Regions from separate parts of the Homo sapiens genome. Here regions 1, 2, 4 and 5 are each linked to region 3. Evidence: promoter capture Hi-C in human tissues and cell types (Jung and others, 2019). All regions are on one chromosome and are shown on one strand. The core of a region is centred on a gene start or on the middle of the fragment in contact, and the rest is flanking DNA. Distances in the headings are between cores, read along the strand shown.

Region 1 (2,715 bases), core at 178-2,677, 640 kb before region 3:
TTGGTCAGGCTGGTCTCGAACTCCTGACCTCATGATCTGCCCACCTCAGCCTCCCAAAGTGCTGGGATTACAGGAGTGAGCCACCACGCCCGGCTGGGTGCTTTTAAAGGCAATGTGAAGTGCTGCAATGGTTGACAGCTTGCTTTGTGTTGGTTGGCATCTTTTAATATCTTCAAATATTGCACCAAAATGACCACAAAAGTGTAGGAGCACTCAATAAAGGTAGCGCTATGACTTCTCGAGGTTCCTATTGGTTCTCACACATCAAAAATCTCTGGGAGGGCTTCATCCTTCTTTGATTTCATTACCATGTCCCCTGACACATGGGGGTGTTCTGGCCCCTGCCCATGACTGTCTTGTGTTTTTTCACTTTAAAGCTTGCACCTAACTTGCATTGTCTGGTGTTTTCACATTTTCGTTGTGTTAATCTAGAGGGCATGCTTCCCCATCTTTCATCCTATTTATGTTGGTTTGATTGTGTGGTAGGAAGAATAAAGTGTGCCCTCACCTCCCTCCCCACTGGCCGCCAAAGATGTCTACATCCTAATCCTCAGAATCTGTGAGTGTTATAATGCACGGCAAAAGGAGAATTAAAGTTGCAGATGGAATTAAAGTTGCTCATCAGCTGACTTTAACAAGAATTATCCTGGTTTATCTTATGTTAACACAAAGGACCTTAGAAGATGGAGGCAGAAGCGTAGGTCAGAGGTACTCAATGTCAGAAGGACCCAACCGGCCTCGCTGGCTTTGAAGATACAGGAAGGTGCAGTTTGAGGGTGTTCTTGTAGACACGGAGACCGATTCTTCCCTAGAGCCTCCGGAAGGAACACAGTCCTGCTGATGCCTCGATTTTAGCCCAGTGAGACCCATTTCTGACTTCCAATTTCCAGAATTGAAAGATAATAAGTTGTATTGTTTAAGCCACTAAGTTTGGGCCAGCCACGGTGGCTCATGCCTGTACTCCCAGCACTTTGGGAGACCTGGGTGGGCGGATCTCTTGAGGTCAGGAGTTTGAGACCACCCTAGCCAACATGGTGAAACCCTGTCTCTACTAAAAAAAAATACAAAAAATAAGCTGGGCGTAGGGCACGCGCCTATAATCCCAAGCTGAGGCAGGCGGATCGCTTGAACCTGGCAGGCAGGGGTTGCAGTGAGCCAAGACGGTGTCACTGCAGTCCAGCCTGGGCGACAGAGTGAGACTCCGTCTCAAACAAACAAACAAACAAACAAACAAACAAACAAACCACCGGATTTGTGGTGATTTGTGACAGCAGTCATAGGAAACATATAATTTGCATCTCCTATAATGTTAGCTTGGTCAATATCACAGCATCAGGTAGAAGCCATGGGCCAGGAAATGAGCTCCTACTGGCCACAGAGGTCCTGGCTGGCACCTTCCTGCCAGGACTCTCCTTGCAGGGGGGTGAGGGGGAAAAGACCACGATGCTGAGGAGCTCTGCTGGGAAAAGCATGAGCTATGTCCCCAAGGACCTTCCTCATCTTTGCACACCTTCCAGCACATTCTACGCACTTGTCATGGGCTCACTTCCTGTTTGGGTCATTTACTTACCAGAAATGTCTCTCCTTTTCTGAGATTAAGTCTGCTTGACCATGTAGAGAGAAGCTGTTCAGTAAACACATACCAAGGTTTCATTTTGAAAAGCTTCATGTGGGAGCTGAGGTTGGAAACCTAAAAGACCCCCAAGTTTAGCAGTGGTTTAGTGAATAAGTAACTGTGAAATGTCCCAGGAATATGCTTGGCTTTCAAAAACTAGTATTTAAAATATCTAGTCTTCTCTCTAAAAGATGGAAGAGAAATTAGTTTTGAAAATCCTTTTGGCTAAAAGCCTACTGTTCTGACATATTCTTCCTCCTGGGACTCACTTTCCTAGAACTGCCTGTCTCTGGTACCTTGTATCTGGAACTCTCCTGAGGTTTATTTGCATTGTTGAATTCCTGCCTTAGGGTTATTGAAGAGTAATGAATTGAATGTTTGAGTTGTTTGTGGTAAGTTATTAATTCCTCCCCCCTTTTTTTTTTGGAGACAGTCTCTCTCTCTCATCCAGGCTGGAGTGCAGTGGCGTGATCTCGTCTCACTGCAACCTCCACCTACCAGGTTCAAGTGATTCTCCTGCCTCAGCCTGCTGAGTAGCTGGGATTACAGGCACATGCCACCACTCCCGGCTAATTTTTTTTTTTTTTTTTAGTAGAGACGAGGTTTCATCATTTTGGCCAGGCTGGTCTCGAATTCCTGACCTCAAGTGATCTGCCTGCCTCCCAAAGTGCTGGGATTACAGGCGTGAGCCACTGTCCCTGGCCAGTAAGTTATTAATTCCATCAGTGAGAGAGACAGCTCTGTGGTTAACGGCACTCATAGGACCATACAGAAGTGTGAAAAGAGGGATCTCAGCTTATCGAATAGAATTTCAGCCACTGCTGAATTACCTTTGGATGGTCCACAAAGAAGTTGCAGAGATACTCTCCTAGGAGAAACAGCCCCATGAGCCACTTCAGGATGGCTTGGCTTTCAGTGAGTTGCTGATAAATATCAGATTTCTGTAAAAATCGAATTTGAAATAGTTTACATATAAAATAGAAGCCTAAATTATCGATCCTGGAGTGTACAGCGAAAGGAGAGAAAATTACACCAGCAATTACATTACAATGTAATAAATGGTAAATCCAGGTGGCCTCTCCTCTCTCTCTCTTTCAATT
Region 2 (2,700 bases), core at 52-2,551, 740 kb before region 3:
CTACATTAGATACAGAAGTCCCTCTTTTTCTGAGGTTTCACTTTCTGCAGTTTCAGTTGCCTGTGGTTAACTGTGATCCAAAAATATTATGTACAAGAAGATATTTTGAGAAAGAGAGAGAGGGAAAGCACATTCACACAACTTTTATTATAATATATTGTTAAAATTGTTCTATTTTATTACTAGTTATTGTTAATCTCTTACTGTGCCTAATTGTTCTATTTTATTATTAGTTATTGTTAATCTTTTACTGTGCCTAATTTATAACCTGAATTTATCATAGGTATGTTATGGATAGAAAAAAACATAGTATATATAGGGTTCCATACTATCTATAGTTTATGACATCCACTGGGGGTCTTGGAACATATCTCCCTCAGATAAGGGGGGACCACTGTAATGTCAAGTGTTTTTTTAAGGAGTTTTACCAATTTACAATCTTTCCAGCAGTGTTAAGAGTTTCTGTTGCTTCCCATTTCTGCAAATAGTTAATATTGTCAATTTCTTAATTTTTCCCAAGTTGTAAAATTTGCTACATTGTAAACTGATAGCCTATTGTCATTTTAATTTGCTTTTTACTAATTATCAAGGTAGTTTATTTATTTATTTATTTATTTTTTGAGACGGAGTCTTGCACTGTCGCCAGGGCTGGGGTGCAGTGGCACAATCTTGGCTCACTGCAACCTCCGCCTTCCAGGTTCAAGCAATTCTCCTGCCTCAGCCTCCCAAGTAGCTGGGATCACAGGCGCCCACGACCATGCCTGGCTAATTTTTTGTATTTTTAGTAGAGATGGGATTTCACTATGTTGGCCAGGCTGGTCTTGAACGCCTGACCTCATGATCCACCCACCTTGGCCTCCCAAAGTGCTGGGATTACAGGCGTGAGCCACCACGCCCAGCCATCAAGGTAGTTTAGAATTTTTTCACCCAAATGTTTATTTGCTATTAGTGCTTTGTTTTCTGCTAAGTGTTTACAGGTTCTTTATCGGATTTTATTTGGGTTTGTGTGTATTTTTCTTATTGAATGTATGAACAATGTATATATTATAGATAAAAGATCTGTTGTTTTTTATATGGGCTACCAATGTCTTCTCTAAGTTCTTGGCTTGTCTTTTTCCTTTCCTTGTGGTGTTTAATTTTTAATTTTAATTTTTATAATAAAATCGTTTATAAGTAAAAATCTAATAAAGACTAAACTAATTTTTTGAAAGGGTACATCAAAGTTGGAGGACTTACATTACCTAATTTTAAGACAATATAAAGTTGTAATAATAAGTAACTTAGTGAGGCATTAGTATTCAGACGGACATAAAGATAAATGTGACAGAAGAGAGAGTCTGGAAGTAGATCCACACATACATAGTCAACAGATTTCCAGCAGAGTTGTCAGAGGTGTTTGAACCAGAGCAACTCCATCTTGAATATGGGCTGGGTAAAATAAGGCTGAGACCTACTGGGCTGCTTTCCCAGATGGTTAAGGCATTCTAGGTCACAGGATGAGATAGGAGGTCAGCACAAGATACAGGTCATAAAGGCCCTGCTGATAAAACAGGCTGCAGTAAAGAAGCCAGCTAAAACCCATCCAAACTACGATGGTGACAAGAGTGACCTCTGGTCATCCTCACTGCTACACTCCCACCAGTGCCATGACAGTTTACAAATGCTCAATATGGTCTAAAAAGGGGAGAAATGAATAATCCATCCTATATTTAGGATATAATCAAGAAATAATCATAAAAATGGGCAACCAGCAGCCCTTGGGGCTGCTCTGCCTATGGAGTGACCATTGTTTATTCCTTTACTTTCCTAATAAACTTACCTTCATTTTACTCTATGGACTCACTCTGAATTCCTTCTTGTGTGAGATCCAAAAACTCTCTCTTGGGATCTAGATTGGGATCCCTTTCCAGTAACAGAGTTGCCAAGGCAATTCAATGAAGAAGTGATAATCTTTTGAACGAATAGGGCTGGAACAACTGGATTTTCATATGCCAAAAAAACAAAAACAAAAGCACAAAAAACAAACAGCCCTGACCCTTACCTCACACTGTATTACAAAATTTAACTTAAAATGAATCATAGGCCTAAATATAAAAGCTAAAGTTATAAAACTACTAGAAGAAAACAGAAAATTTTCGTGACAGTGAATTAGTAAAAAATGTCTTGGGTAGGACACAAAAATAGTACAAAGCATGAATGAAAAAAATGATAAATTTAACTTCATCAATATTATAAACTGTTTTTCAAAAGACACTTGTAAAAGAATTTAAAAAGCCAAGAACTGGATGAAATTATTTGCAGAATATATATATGATAAAGGACTTGTATCCAGAATACATAGAGACTTTTACAATTCAATTATAAGAAATTACACAACCCCATTAACAAATGAAGATAAGGTTTAAGAAACACTTCACCATGGAAAATAGCATGTGAAAAGATACTCAATACCATTAGACATTAGGAAAATGTAAATTGAAACCACAGTGAGATATGACTACACACCCACATTCTAGTGTAACATTCTAGGCTAACATTAGAAAGATTGATTTTATCAAGTGTTGGCAAGGATGTGAATTTACCTGAACTCTTGTGCTTTGCTTTACTGGTGGGAATACAAAATGGTGCAGCCATTTTGAAAAGGAGCTTGGTAATTTCTTTAAAGTTAAACATACACTTATCATATGACTTAGCAAATCC
Region 3 (2,754 bases), core at 157-2,656:
AGGTTATGGAAAGCAGTTTGGATTTTAGATTTTAAGAGGAAGGGGAAATAACTGAATTTGGCTCTTATTTTTAATTTTTTTCCATTAAAAAAATACATTATAGAAAAAATATATAGAGACGGGATCATGCTGTGTTGACCAGGCTGGTCTCCAACTCCTGGCCTCAAGCGATCCTCCCATCTCGGCCCCCCAAAGTGCTGGGATTACCGGTTTGAGCCACGCGCCTGGCCTCAATTTGTCTTTTAAAGGATGATTTTGACTACAAGAGAACTACTTGGATCAGGGTTGGGGGTGGGAGATGAGGAGGTGTGATTTCAGAGGCCAAGTACAGAATGAGTGAACAACTGGGAGAGACACATCGGCTGAGATTAGAGAGATGGTCCGGTAGACAAAAGTGTAAGCATGAGACCCGAGGTAGGACAAGCAGAACTTGCAGATCTATTACAGATGTAGGGGTGAGGAGTGCCAGGGTGACTCTTGAGTGTCTGGCTTGAGCAGCTAGGCAAATGGTGTGGATCAAAAAAGCAGCAGGTTGCAGGGAGGACGGCAGTGTTAATCGAAAGTCATGTTCTGTAAGTTTTAGGTTCGATACGACTCTGAGCGGAGATGTCAATTAGTCAACCGAATGTCAGGTGTGAAGATCGGCACAGAGGGCAGAACCAGAGACATTCATTAGAGAGCAAACAGGTAGAGGGCACTTAACCTATAGGAAGGATGCACTCATATAGAGCGAGAAAAGGGCCAGAAGGAGCCCTAATGAGTAGAGAAAGACAGGCTGAAAAGGACATCGGCGAGGTCAGAGAAATACCTTTAGGGTGTAATTACGCCTACGCGAGTGGGTAAAATGAGGGCATAATGACGCGGACTGGATTGCAATAAACAGCTTTTATTCTTTTATCAGAGACACGATCTAGCTTTTTAGCCCAGGCCGGAGTGCGGTGGCATCCTCACAGCTCGCTGCAGCTTCACTGGGCTCAGGCGATCCTCTCGAGTAGCTGGGGTACAGGCGCAGGCCACCGTGACAGGCTTTTTTTTTTTTTTTTTTTTTTTTTTTTTGAAGAGAGGGTCTCACTATGTTACCCAGGCTAGTCTCGCAGTCTGGCACTCCTGGCCTCAAGCGATCCTCCTGCCTCGGCCTCTCGGCCTCCCAAAGTGCTGGCCTGTGCCCAGTCAATGGCTGTTCCAAATTAGGGTCTACCCATCTCTATGCAGGGCTAAAGTCCGCGGGCGGCCCCGCACCGCTACCAAAAGTACAGTCCTGTGCGCCCAGACGCGACGCAAACAAGAGTCGCAAGCTTCCGGGTCCCCGCCCCACCCCGGCTCCGCCCCTCCCCCAACCCTGCCAGGCTCTCCAATCGCATGTGGAATTATCGCTCTACCCAGGCGGTGGTGTCGATCTACGTTCCAATTGGGGCCGTACCATGGCGGAGAAGACTCAAAAGAGGTGGGTTTGCTGCTTGAGAAAAGCCTTTTCTCAGCTTTCCGTAGGGGTGGAACCTGTTCCTGGTCGCCAATGGTGGCGACTCAGAAGGTGTCTCATCCTGGGCATTCGGGCCGAAGGTACCTGAAGCCCAGACCTGGCGTCCACTGAGGGAGGGGGCGACGGAGTGGGGGCGGGGAGGGTTGAGAAGGGACGCGGAGTCGCTGCCTGGAAGGTTTTTGTTCCTGTCTGGCCGTCCCTCCCCACATGCGCCTGCGCAGAGGGGGTCTCCCGGCCGGGAGGGCGGGGGGGGCTGTGAGGGGAGGGTGACGTCAGCTTTTTCCTGGGGAAGGCCGGCTCCCTTCTCCCGCATAATCGGCGGTGCTTGGCGCCGCTGTACCCCACGGCTTGGCGCTGGATTCTCTGCTGCATGTTGCGAGACCCCCACGCCAGTGCTGGCCGCACCCCAGGCCCTTCCTGTCTCTGGAGGGTGGGGTGTGTAAAGGGATTTACGGTCGCTGTCAAAAGGGGGGCCGCGCCTGGACTTGAACTGTGACACACACACACACACATTATATAGATGCAAGGAGTACTTGCGCAGATTTGTTGCATAGATAAATTGCGTAATGGTGAAGTTGGCTTCTAGTGTACTTACCACCCAAATAGTGAACATTGTATCAGATGGGTAATTTTTCAGCCCTCAAACCCCTCCTACCCTCGCTGCTTTTAGAGTCCCCAGTGTCTGTTATTTCCCTCTTTATGTTTATGTGTACTCATTTTAGCTCCCACTTAAAAGTGAGAACATGTGCATTTGATTTTATTTCTGAGTTATCGCGTAAGGTAATGGCCTCCAGTTCCATCCATGTTGTTGCAAAAGACATGTTTCCTTTCTTTTTGATGGCTCTGTAGTATTCCATCGTATAGATACACCACATTTCCTTTATCCAGTCATCCGTTGATGAACACTTAGGTTGATTCCATACTTTGCTATTGTGAATAGTACAGTGATAGTCATAGGAGTGCAGTTGTCTTTTTAATACAATGGTTTCCTTTGAGTAGATCCTGGGTCGAATGGTAGTTCCGTTTGGATTGGTAGCTCTATATGGATTGCTGGGTCCAATGGTACTTGTGTTTAGTCCTTTGAGAAATCACCATACTATTTTCAATAGATGAACTAATTTATATTCCCACCAATAGTGTATAAGCTTAGAACTGTGACATTTTTTGCCAGGCGTGGAGTGGACAAGCTCCTTTGTAAACATGTGGGGACAGGAAGTTTGGCTTCTTCTCCGGTAGTCTTCATTGCTGGGGGCTGTTGGTGGCTGTTGGTGGCT
Region 4 (2,714 bases), core at 203-2,702, 520 kb before region 3:
ATAAAAGAGACTTAATTGACTCATAGTTCTGCAGGCTGTACAGGAAGTATGGCTGGGAGGCCTCAGGAAACTTACAATCATGGCAGAAAGCAAAGGGGAAGCAAGCATTTCCTACCATGGCAGATCAGGAGAGAGAGAGAGAGAGAGAGAGAGAAGGGGCAAGTGCTACACACTTTGAACAACTAGATCTCGTGAGAACTCACTCACTATCAGGAGAACAGCAAGGGGGAAATCTGCCCCCATGATCCAATCACCTCCCACCAAGCCCCTGCTCCAACACTGAAGATCATAATTCAGCATGAGATTTGTACACAGAGCCTAACTATATCACTATCTCAGAATACACCTAATTTATGGCCACATTTTAAAGCCATCACATCCACAGGGGTATATCCCTCCTGTGGATTTTTTGCTCAATTCACTCTGCCAGAGTAACTCTCAATTTGCAGAAGAATAAACCAGGCATTGAGGATGTGACCATTGTCTTCAGCTCTTTGGAAGACTATCATATGCAAGAGAGAGTAGATGTAACCCACAAGGCTTTAAGAATGAGCTAAAGACCAGTGAGTAAATGGAACAGGCGAACTTACTAATATTTGGGAATGTCTGTCAATGAGTTGCCTTGCCTAGGAAGACAGTGAATTCTCTGATTTTTGAACTATTGATTGAACACAAATCAGGAATGTCCCAGTAGGGCCTCAGACACTATCTTGGAGATTGGATTAAATGAATTCTTTAGAAGACTGAGGGATATAAGTTGTTCTGTGTTAGAAACATCGCAGCAGAGACAGGGCATGATGAAGAATCATCCACGACTTCAATTCTACCTTTTCAAGTCACCTTCTAAGTATATAATTTCAAGGATATTGGGATGCCTCATGGTACCTCTCCTTTAATAATTATTCTCCTATATTGGTGGCTTAGAACCCCCAATGAGAGACTAATTCTTTTAATTTAAGCCTTTGATCCTTGTTAAAGTGTAATACCCCGGGAAAGGGGAGAGCCAAAGCTCTTTCCAGTGATTTATAATTTACCAAGAGCACGTTTAAGGTCATATTCTGTGAGGATGATTTGACAAGAGAGGGTAGGGCAATGCGTATGTGAGAAGGGGGAGGAAGAAATGGTCCAGAAGGAGAGAGAGAATGGCACAAAGTAGGGAAAAATACATGAAGATCTGGGGAACCGATGCTTCTGGTGCCAGCCCTAGCAGAGGCTGATTTCTTCAGCTTCATGCAATCGGTTATGAAACCACCGTTCTCAGTTCTCAGAACAAACTGGCAGAGAGCTGGTGTCCACTTCCGTGACCTTTCCTGCACTTGAGAAGTGCAACTACAGGCTCAGCTCAGAGAATACCACAGAGCCCTCTTCCCTGTTTGGAACAGCAGGTGGGGGAGTCACCCTCCCTCATTTATTTCCGTCACTACACTGTTAGAACAGGGATGACAGGGGCCTAACTCACTTCCCGAGAAGTCGTGGCATCCTCTGTATAAACAAAGGAAAAATTTCTACTGTAAATCACCCAAACAAGTGATATCCCAGAGGAAGAAAGAAAACAGTGAGGGAGGAAGATGCCATCCAAGGGGAAAACATGTCAGGTTGTGCACATTAGATCTGGTCATTCGCAAGTGACCTCTCTGGGAAGGCAAAGGATAGCAGAGATTGAAAAGGAGGCTATAAAATTGAGAGCCTAAGCAAAGCACTTGACAGAGGGAAGAACATGTAACCAGTGGACTCCTTGTTCTCCCAGCACTGCCCTCACAGCCCAAAGAATTTCTGAACAAAGAGAACAAGATTCAAGTTTAAAACCAAGACCTCTGCTTCCATTTCTGTGTTTTCCTTCCCTCCCATAGCCCAGAGTGTGCCCCAGCAAACCAGCTGTCAGGAAAGCATTTGATGTCAGTCATTTGCATCTTAATGCGATGGAAAGGTGAGGAGCTGCCTCTACCGGCATATTTCAATTTTAAGACTGATTTGTTAGAGTGAAGGACTCCTTGAAGATAATTCAAGCTTGGGAGGTGTGATCGGACACATTCTGGGGAGGGGAGTTGGCAGGGTAGGGAGGTCACCAGGTAGTCACCACTTCCATTTTCATACAAAGGTACCTGTGATGCTTGGAGTCAAGTACTGGGTTCCATCTTGGGAAGCCAGAGCGTCGGATCTTCGGTCACTCCTGGTGAGCACAAGCAAGTGAGAGCTCAGGCTCTGGTGCAGGGTGAGTGGAAGCGCCACTCCCTTTATTTCAAACCTTCTTCTGGCCTGTGGGGGAGCCAGCTCCCTGGGGCATCCCATTACAACAACAGCTGACCACAAGGAGCGCCAGTGTGCAGGCGCTTCTTCCCAGCTGCAGGCATTTTAGTTGTGTTGTAAATAGACAACCATGAGACCAAATGGAAACTTTGTATAGTCTTAGTATTCCAGATCCATGGAGATCTGAGGATAAAAAGTCCCAAGTAATAGCATATCCTATTTATTTTCACCAACTTATATAAAACTGAACCCTGACTCTGTTATGCATTGCCCACAAGCAGCTTTATAGGATCACAGATACATCAGCAGTCCCTACGGCCCTATAAGGCTATTTTCCTAGCATTACACATCCTCCAAGTCATAGATGTCAAAGTGGTGTTCTAGTGGAGATTGAATATCATTCCATTGTTAGAAGATGGGAAGTAAATTCAATATACAAGATCAAATGGAGACTTTTCAGTTTTCTC
Region 5 (2,700 bases), core at 42-2,541, 610 kb before region 3:
AGTGCCGGCAGCAGAGGGGCCAGGGACTGCTGTGAGGCAGCGTCTCCATCCAGAGACCCCTGCCTGGGACGTCTGCCACATCCTCAGTCAGTTGCCTCTGATTAACCCAGAGTCCGTGAGAGCAGGAAACCCCCAAATGTCACCATAAAACTGGGGACATTTTCAAGCTAACCCCCCCACCACACCCCGGGTAATATAGTTAAACCCCTTCATTTTACAGGCAAGGAAACCAGAGATCAGAAAGGTTAAATGACTTCTCAGAGGCAGTGGTAGAGCAGGTTCTACCCTCCTTTCCATTACAGGCTTAAAGTCAGCATCACTTTAGAGGAGATTTAACCAGCAGATGAGCAGGTAGCATCAACGCAGAACATGCACTTTGGCAGGGCTGGCTTCTCTGTCCTTCTCTCCTGCCTGTACTCATCCTCCCCAACATGGAAGGAGGTGGGTTTTCCATCCTCTTTACCCCTTTGTTTATCTCCATCCCGCCCCACAGCAGGGAAGGAGGCTTTTAACAGAATCACCCTTGGGAAGTTTTGCCTTGGGATTCTATTTAAATGACAGAATAGACCTGATGTATGGTGGGGTCCCTCTCAGTAGAATATAGGTATCCAGGGTGTTGTGAGTTGAATTGTGTCCCCCAAAAAGACATATTGAAGTGGTAACGCCTGGTACCTATGAATGTGGCCTTGTTTGGAAGTACAGTCTTTGCTGAAGTAATTAAGATGGAAGTTAAGAGGAGATACTGGAATAGGGTGGACCCTTAATCCAGTATAACTAGTGCCCTTAAGAAACTGCCTTTGCAAAATTATAACTGAGGAAATTATGACAGTGAAAGAAGTCAGCCCTAACCGACTCTGTCTTGCTTCTCTGACCCTTAAGCTGTCCTTGTTCTTTCCTGGGCGTAGGTCAAACTTTGGGAAGGAATTCAGTTCATTGTTTGACTCTGAAACAAAATCGATAATAGCCCTTTCCTGAAAAGACCCCTTTCTTGTCTGGGGTCCAATCTGCTTTTGCAGGACTAACAAATTAGCTATAAGATTAGAAATTAGCCACTGGCTTCAAGAGTCTGAACCTCCCCAAATTGCTCCTGGGGGTAACTGTAGGGAGTCCCCCTGAAACTATTGCTACGGAGTAAAAGATGAAATGCTCCTGGTTATTGTAAATACAAAATTACATGCAGGATTGTGTAAAGACAATGCCAGTTTGGACTGCCAGAAAGAGCCAACAGCGCGTGATGTGCTTCCCCCCGCAGAGAGCCTATGAATGGATGTGCAGTCAGGGAGGTTTCACATCACCAAGATTCCTATCCCAGAAAAGCAGATGTTCATAGCTCTGGGAATGGAATGCAACCCTTGTGGAGAGCCTATAAATGGGTGCGTTGGGGAGGGGTGGCACCTGTCCATATGGATACGATAGGGCTATAAACGCCCTCATCTTGCCATGGCTCTTCTAGGCCTCTTTAGGGTTAAGGCATACTCCCTTCTGAGAATTTCTGGTCTAACCGGTTGTCTAGCTTCACGTCCTGTTTCCATGGATTGTTCGTAACCAGCTTGTGTGGCAATTGTTACTGCTGATTAATATCTTGCTAATCATAGGTTATGGAAAGATTGTGTTTCGGTTTTAAGGCTCTGTTAAAAATTACTGATGCACACACTATATTGTAAATTCTTATCTCTGTATACTGTACTTCTACATACAAATGTACTGTACTTCTACATACAAATGTTATGTTAAAGAATTACTTCATCCCCATGTGACCATCTCACCTCATAATCAAATGACCCTAAATCCATCACTAACCTACCCCTGCCCTCACTAAATTTAATAAGTGCTGGTATATCCAGTGCATTGTTGGCACCACAGGACCAGAAGGCGGTGACCCCCCCGGACCCAGCTTTCACTATCTTGTGTGTGTCTATTATTTCTCAACCTGCCGACCTGCCTGGGAACAAAGAGAGAGCCCTATTGCATTGCGGGCTGCTGGCCAGATCCCGCAATAGGTAACATCACTATTGTAAAATCTCAGATCAGAGCTTGAGATATTTTGCAGACCTTGCACTTGATGGAGCAGCTGACACCACCCAGACCCAACCAGTTCTGCCCAACCAGCTCTGCCATTGCACCCAGGAACACAAGACATTAGGAAAACCTAACTTCGACCCCCTATGATTCCATCTCCAACTTGACCAATCAGCCTCCCCACTTCCCAAGACCCTACCTGCCAAATTATCTTTAAAAACTCAGATCCCCGAATGCTCGGGGAGACAGATTTGAGTAATAATAAAACTCTGGTCTCTTGCACAGGTGGCTCTGTGTGAATTACTCTTTCTCCATTGCAATTCCGCTGTCTTGATAAATCGGTTCTCTCTAGGCAGCAGGCAAGGGGAACCCACTGGGCAGTTACACTTACAGGAAGAGAAGAGACACAGCCACACACAGAGAACACTTGTGACAGGGCAGACATTGGAGTGATGTTGCCACAAGCCAAGGATGCTCTGTCCACCAGAAGCTGGAAGAGGGAAGGAGAGGTCTTCCCCTAGAGGTTTGGAGGGAGTGTGGCCCTGCAGACACCTTGATTCTGCACGTCCAGCCTCCAGAAGGATGGGAGAATAGATATCTGTTGTTTTAAGCCACCTGGTTAGTGATACTTCCTTACAACAGTCCTAGGAAACTAATTCATAGCAGAGCCCAGGCAGCTGA

Evidence for each region. The method cuts DNA at HindIII sites, captures the fragments that hold promoters and counts their contacts. A contact is called where the count stands out against the background at its distance.
Region 1: a contact is called between a fragment that was not itself captured here and the fragment with the promoter of DCTN6 in region 3, in 1 of the 25 tissues and cell types used here (heart right ventricle).
Region 2: a fragment that was not itself captured here is called in contact with the fragment with the promoter of DCTN6 in region 3 in 1 of the 25 tissues and cell types used here (lymphoblastoid cells).
Region 4: a contact is called between a fragment that was not itself captured here and the fragment with the promoter of DCTN6 in region 3, in 1 of the 25 tissues and cell types used here (lymphoblastoid cells).
Region 5: a fragment that was not itself captured here is called in contact with the fragment with the promoter of DCTN6 in region 3 in 2 of the 25 tissues and cell types used here (IMR-90 fibroblasts and spleen).

Annotation. Positions count from the first base shown.
Region 1 is chr8:29,519,420-29,522,134 of GRCh38, forward strand. No RefSeq gene overlaps it. Among named protein-coding and RNA genes, the nearest start is that of LINC02948, 41 kb to the right of the region's middle. The HindIII fragment of the contact is 6,406 bases long and covers 1-2,715 here.
Region 2 is chr8:29,413,744-29,416,443 of GRCh38, forward strand. No RefSeq gene overlaps it. Among named protein-coding and RNA genes, the nearest start is that of DUSP4, 64 kb to the left of the region's middle. The HindIII fragment of the contact is 6,412 bases long and covers 1-2,700 here.
Region 3 is chr8:30,154,963-30,157,716 of GRCh38, forward strand. It overlaps DCTN6 (dynactin subunit 6), which reads left to right and starts at 1,407. Exons shown (of 7, transcript NM_006571.4): 1 at 1,407-1,444. The coding sequence starts at 1,422. DCTN6-DT (DCTN6 divergent transcript) reads right to left here and starts at 1,698. Exons shown (of 1, transcript NR_186490.1): 1 at 867-1,698. It overlaps LOC124901927 (a long non-coding RNA gene), which reads right to left. Exons shown (of 2, transcript XR_007060880.1): 2 at 2,210-2,754. RefSeq lists enhancers at 498-707, 532-1,514, 1,458-1,607 and a silencer at 1,668-1,777. The HindIII fragment of the contact is 3,226 bases long and covers 1-2,754 here.
Region 4 is chr8:29,633,869-29,636,582 of GRCh38, forward strand. No RefSeq gene overlaps it. Among named protein-coding and RNA genes, the nearest start is that of LINC02948, 73 kb to the left of the region's middle. The HindIII fragment of the contact is 6,582 bases long and covers 1-2,714 here.
Region 5 is chr8:29,540,889-29,543,588 of GRCh38, forward strand. All of the region lies in intron 1 of LOC105379350 (a long non-coding RNA gene), which reads left to right. Among named protein-coding and RNA genes, the nearest start is that of LINC02948, 20 kb to the right of the region's middle. The HindIII fragment of the contact is 5,876 bases long and covers 1-2,700 here.